2 separate regions of the Homo sapiens genome follow, and region 2 is linked to region 1. The links are contacts of gene promoters, found by promoter capture Hi-C in human tissues and cell types (Jung and others, 2019). All regions are on one chromosome and are shown on one strand. Each heading gives the region's core, a stretch centred on a gene start or on the middle of the fragment in contact. The rest is flanking DNA. Distances are from core to core; before and after follow the strand shown.

Evidence for each region. Contacts are between HindIII fragments. The study calls those that stand out against the background at their distance.
Region 2: a contact is called between a fragment that was not itself captured here and the fragment with the promoter of ANKRD34B in region 1, in 1 of the 25 tissues and cell types used here (adrenal gland).

The regions. Positions count from the first base shown.
Region 1 is chr5:80,569,030-80,571,729 of GRCh38, forward strand. ANKRD34B (ankyrin repeat domain 34B) reads right to left here and starts at 1,251. Exons shown (of 5, transcript NM_001004441.3): 1 at 1,125-1,251; 2 at 1-78. The HindIII fragment of the contact is 14,198 bases long and covers 1-2,700 here.
Region 2 is chr5:80,607,343-80,610,042 of GRCh38, forward strand. It overlaps LINC01337 (long intergenic non-protein coding RNA 1337), which reads right to left. Exons shown (of 2, transcript NR_125754.1): 2 at 1,278-1,603. Among named protein-coding and RNA genes, the nearest start is that of LINC01337, 14 kb to the right of the region's middle. The HindIII fragment of the contact is 4,173 bases long and covers 1-2,700 here.

The DNA of each region.
Region 1 (2,700 bases), core at 1-2,500:
CACGGTCCCCGCCGACCCCTGGAACCAGGCGCGTTTCCTCAGTTTTTCCTGAGAGCAGGAGGAAGCGAGCTCAAGGCGCTGTCGGAGAAGGGCAAAGGAAGGTGACTGGGGCGACAGCTCCAGGGCACCGATGGGGGCGGGGTGCGCGTTTCGTCGCCTCATCTCTGAGCCAGGGCAGGCAGCTGGCGGGCTAAGGCGATCACCATCCATGAAAACGGGTTCTGCCCACAGCCGCTGCGGAGCGGTCCCTGCGCCGCTCGCCCGCCGGCCGGACGCGGCCCTCCCTTGGGAAATGGTGCGTCTGAGGGGCGCAGCCACTGCCCCCATCCCGGAGCAGGCGCACCTCTGCACCCGGCTCTCTGCTAAGGGGGTCCGGTATCCTGGTGCCAAGGCTGTGCGCACCTGAGAAGGGCGGGAACCGGCTGCCCGCCCCTGTGTGGCTCCTGGAAGCAGGAGCTCCTGGAAGCTGCAAAGGGCTCCGCAGTCCCCAGCCCGCCCCCAGCGCCCAGCCGGCACCTCCTGCTGCCCAGCTGCCGAGGCACCTGCGGAGACGCGCCCAAGTCAGCCCCTCCGGAGACGCGCCCAAGTCAGCCCCTCCGACCCGCGCGCTCTTGCGGCCCAGCGCGCGCCGCTCCCGCTGCTGCGCCGACCTTCGCCCATCAGGCCCCCCGCCCCGCATCCTCCTCGACACCCCGCGGCCGGGCAGCCCTCGCCGGTTCCCGCCGCTCGGCGAGGCTGAGAAGGAGGCGGAACCCGCATCCCCGCGGAGTCCAAGCCCCAGCGGCCGCAAAACTGGAACCGAGAACCAGTGGGAAAGGCAGGAGGCGCGAGGGTGAGCTCGCGTGGAGCGCGCCCCGGGGTGGCGGGGCAGAGTCTCTCGGGAGGCCCCTGCAGCCCGGCGGCCCTCGGCTGGCCCTGGGTCTCTCATCCTGCTCGGGGCACTGCAATGTCAGGGTGAGCGGGAGGTGCGGGCTTCAGGGGCTTGCGCGCACCGGGCAGGGAGCACTGAGGCCGTGCGGGCCGCTGGGTTCCACGCTGCGCCCTCGATGTCCTCCTCCCGGCAGCCGCCACTGCAAGCCAAAGTTTCCCAAGTGCAGCCGGCAGGGACGGCGCCTCACACTGACCTGGGACGCGCTGTCGAGTTGGCGGCGGCGCTTTCAAACCTCTCTCCGGCACTGCCCGACCCTCTGTGCGGCCCTAGGGCGCCGTCTGAGCTGAGCTGTGGTCTTCGGCTCCTCGGCGCCTCGAATCGCAGATCTCGGTAGATGCCGCCCAGTCCCCGCCCTGCTTGCGGAAAGAGGCGGGCGACTGCCGCGAAGCGCTGGAGCTGGGACCCGGAGCGCACACCTCGCCAGACGCCCGGGCAGCGAGGCGCTTCCGCTGGGGGTGACGCGTCGGCTCCAGGCTCTGCGCAGGTGAGGGCGGCAAGGCTCCTCTGGACCCAGGGGGGCCAGCAGCTGCTGGAAGCTCCGCCTTCTGTCCCCGTAAGTCCCACCCCCGTCCCCCGCTTCGGCCACCGCGCTTCGGCCACGGCGACTTGGCCAACAACAGCGGCAGCAGGGTCTCCCCATTGAGGGAAGCACGCACCCCTACGTCACGGGCTTTGGCTCCTCCAGTCCGTATCCCTCCCCTCAGCTCACATCCACCCGCTGGTTCATGGGTCCATCTGTCCCCACCGGTCCTTCCACCCCTCCGCATCCCTGTACCCACTTCAGGTAAAGCCAGAGCCACACTTCAGGTTGGGGTGTTAGTGGGAACAACCGTTCTTATTTACGTCTTTAGGAATTTATAAGGTTATTATGCTATTATTAAAACATGAATAAACATATTAACAAAATTTCGAAAAATACATTTCATATGTTAAACTCTACTGAGAGATGAAAAGGAAATGAAGCAGAAGCAACTTTTTCTGTCGTTTTTAGTTTTTGGTTTTTTTGAGACGGAGTCTCATTCTGTCACCCAGGCTGGAGTGCAGTGGTGTGATCTCGGCTCACTGCAACCTCTGCCTCCTGGGTTCAACCGATTCTCATGAGCCAGCCTCTGGAGTAGCAGGGATGACAGGTGTGCACCATCACGCCTGGCCAATTTTTGTATTTTTAGTAGAGATGGGGTTTCACCATGTTGCCCAGGCTGGTCTCGAACTCCTGACCTCAAGTGATCCACCCACCTCGGCCTCCCAAAGTGCCGGGATTACAGGTGTGAGCCACAACGCCCGGCCAGAAGCAAAGTTTTTAACTCTTCATTTATCTTGGAGGGTCTGGTGGAGAAAGGCCATCACTATTTTTGTTATTCAGATAATGTCAATCAAAACTTGTTTATAGTTTTGAGTTCTCGGGAAAAGTAGATTTATCTCTGGTCAGGCTTCCTTTATTAAAGAAAAGATCTCTCCGAAATGAGGACCTAAAGGGTCCTCATTTAGTAAACATATGCAAAGCAATTGCACAGGGTGCTTTACCCCAAAGTTAGGCTCTAGGGAGTTTGAATCCTATATCTGGGCTGCCCTTTGCCTACAGCTGTTTGTTTGGAGGTTACCAGGAAGACTGAGCCAATTTGCATGAAGGCACGGGGCTCCTCCCCCTTACCACCTCCGACTGTTCTCTTAAAAAAATTTCATCAATGTGCAGTGTACCTATTAAAAGGCAAATATTTTGGCTGAGTGCTGTGGCTCATGCCTGTAATCCCAGCACTTTGGGAGGCCAA
Region 2 (2,700 bases), core at 103-2,602, 38 kb after region 1:
TGGTGGGAACTTAAGAGGTTCTTGAAATTATTTTCAACCAAAAAAATGTAGTCCTGTCTTTTATGACTATGAATTAGAGGCCATCTATGAAGCTGCTGAGTTTTATAGAAAAGCCTGCATTTAGACTGACATCTATCTTGTAATGTGGCAGTAAAAAATTCTGAAACATTTACAGAACAAAGGTTAAGGCCAAACTTTATCAGCATAATGTTTATAGAGACTAAATCTGCACAAAAAAGGGGCAGATTTATTATTTGTGTTTAACTACAGTGTCTATTGTGTGTTTAAAAGTCCATATTAAATGAAGTAGATTCACTGAAGTAGGAAGGGAGACAAGTTGAGAATCAGGAAAGGAGAAAGTCTAGTGAACTTCTTTAAGAGCCACTTTTGAACTGTCTTCTAGCACTTGCTGACTTTGAATCATTTTTCCCAATTTTTATTGTGAATATTTTCAAACATATAGAAAAGCTTAATAATATGATGACATCTGTATATTCTTGCATATTAGTCAGGGTTCTCCAGAGAAACAGAACCAATAGGATTCATTGATTTGAATTGGCTCATGCAATTATGGAGTCTTGACAAGTCCTGAGTTCTTCAGGGTGAAATCAGCAAGCCAGACACCCAGGAGAGCCAATGGTTCAGTTCCAATCTGAGTCCAAAGACCTGAGAACCAGTAGAGTCAACAGTGTAGCTTCTGTCTAAAGGCCAGCAGGCTCAAGAGCCAGGAAGTGCAGATGTTTCAGTTTGAGTCAAAAGGGAGAAAAATAAGCCAATGTCCCAGGTCAAAGGCAGTCAGGCAGGAAGAATTCTGTTACTTGGGTGAGGGTCAGCCTTTTAATTCTATTCAGGCTTTCAACTGATTTGATGAGGCCCATCCACATTAGGAAGGACAATTTTCTTTACTCAGGCTATTAATTTAAATGTTAATTTCATCAAAAAACATCATCACAAGGCTGGGAGCAGTGGCTCACACCTGTAATCCTTGTACTTTGGGAGGCTGTGGTGGGAAGATGGCTTGAGCCTAGAAGTTTGAGGCCATAGTGAGCTATGATCACACCATAGCATTCCAACCTGGGCAACAGAGCAAGACCCTGTCCCTGAAACAAAAATAAAAACAAAAACAATGAAACCCAAATGAAACAAACAAAAAACACCTTCACAGAAACACCCAGAATAATGTTTAAGTATCTGGGCACCCAGTCAAGTTGACTCATAAAATTAACCATCACATCTTGTATTAGCTTTCTATTGCTGTACAATAATATTACCACACATTTAGCAGCTTAAAACAACATATATTTATTATCTCACAACTTCTGTGGCTCAAGATGCTGGCTATGGTTTAGCTGGATCCTGTTCTTAAGGTTTCACAAGACTGTACAAGATGCCAGCCAGGGCTGTGGTCTCATCAGATGCTTGACTGGGGGAAAAAATAACTTCTAAGCTCACTCACATTATAGGCATAATTCAGGTCTTTGCATCTATAAGATTGAGGTCTTCTGTTTCTTGCTGGCTGTCAGCTGGAAGCTACCCTCACCCCATAGAGGCCATGTTACTTCCTTGTTGGGATTGCCCAAGATGTTCACTTGCTTCCTCAAAGCTAATAAAGGAAAAAGAGAGAACTTAGGTAATCATGTATATCCTGTCACCTTTGCCATATGTTATTGTCCAGAAGCAAGTCACAGTTCTTGCTCACAAGAAGGGAGAGGGAGAGGTGTCACATAAGAGTATGAACACCAGGAGTCGGAATCATGGGAACTACTGTAAGCCTGTGTACCACAAGTCTCCATTTAGATTCAAGAATTGTTAACATTTTGCACATCTGCTTTGTCTCTCTCTCTTTCTACACACACACTTTTGATGAATATTTGTCGTGATTATTTCTCTAAATACATTCATCTCCTAAGAACAGTACACTTCTATATAATTACAACACAATAATCAAAGTATTTTAAAGAAAATTAACAATATTTTCATTCAATCATTTAATGTTCAGATCATGTTCAAATTTCTTTCATTGTAGGAGCAAACCTCTTATACATTTTAAAAAATCAAGATCCAATCAGGTTTCATGCATTACATTTGGTTATGTCATTTTAGTCTCTTTAGTTTAACTCAGTTTTGTCACTAAATTAAAACAACTGAAGTATATTATACATACAGAAAAGTATAAATATCATTGGAGATCGTAGCCAGCATTATAAGTAAACATCATCATGTACAAAGAAAATCCAAAAGAATCCATACGCTATTAGAATAAATGAATTTAGCAAGGCCTCTTGATACAGTCAGTATGCAAAAATCATTTCTATATGCTAGAGACAAAAAACTTAAACAATTCAATTATAACATCAAAAAGCACCAAATTCTCACAAATAAATCTAAGATGTCTAAGACCTTCCCTCTATACTGAAAATTATATAATATTGATGACAGAAATTAAAGAAGAGCTAAATTAATGGAGAGATATTAACTCCTGAAAATTAATCTCTAGCTTCAGCCCAGGGTGGAGGCTTACACGTGTAATCCTAGCACTTTGGGAGGCTGAAGTGGGAGGACTGCTTGAGGCCAGGAGTTTCAGACTAGCCTGGTCAACATAATAAGACCCTGCCTCTACAAAAAATAAAAAAGCTTAGCTAGGCAGGGTGATGCATGCCTGTAGTCCTGATCCCAGGAGTTCAAGGCTACAGTGAGCTG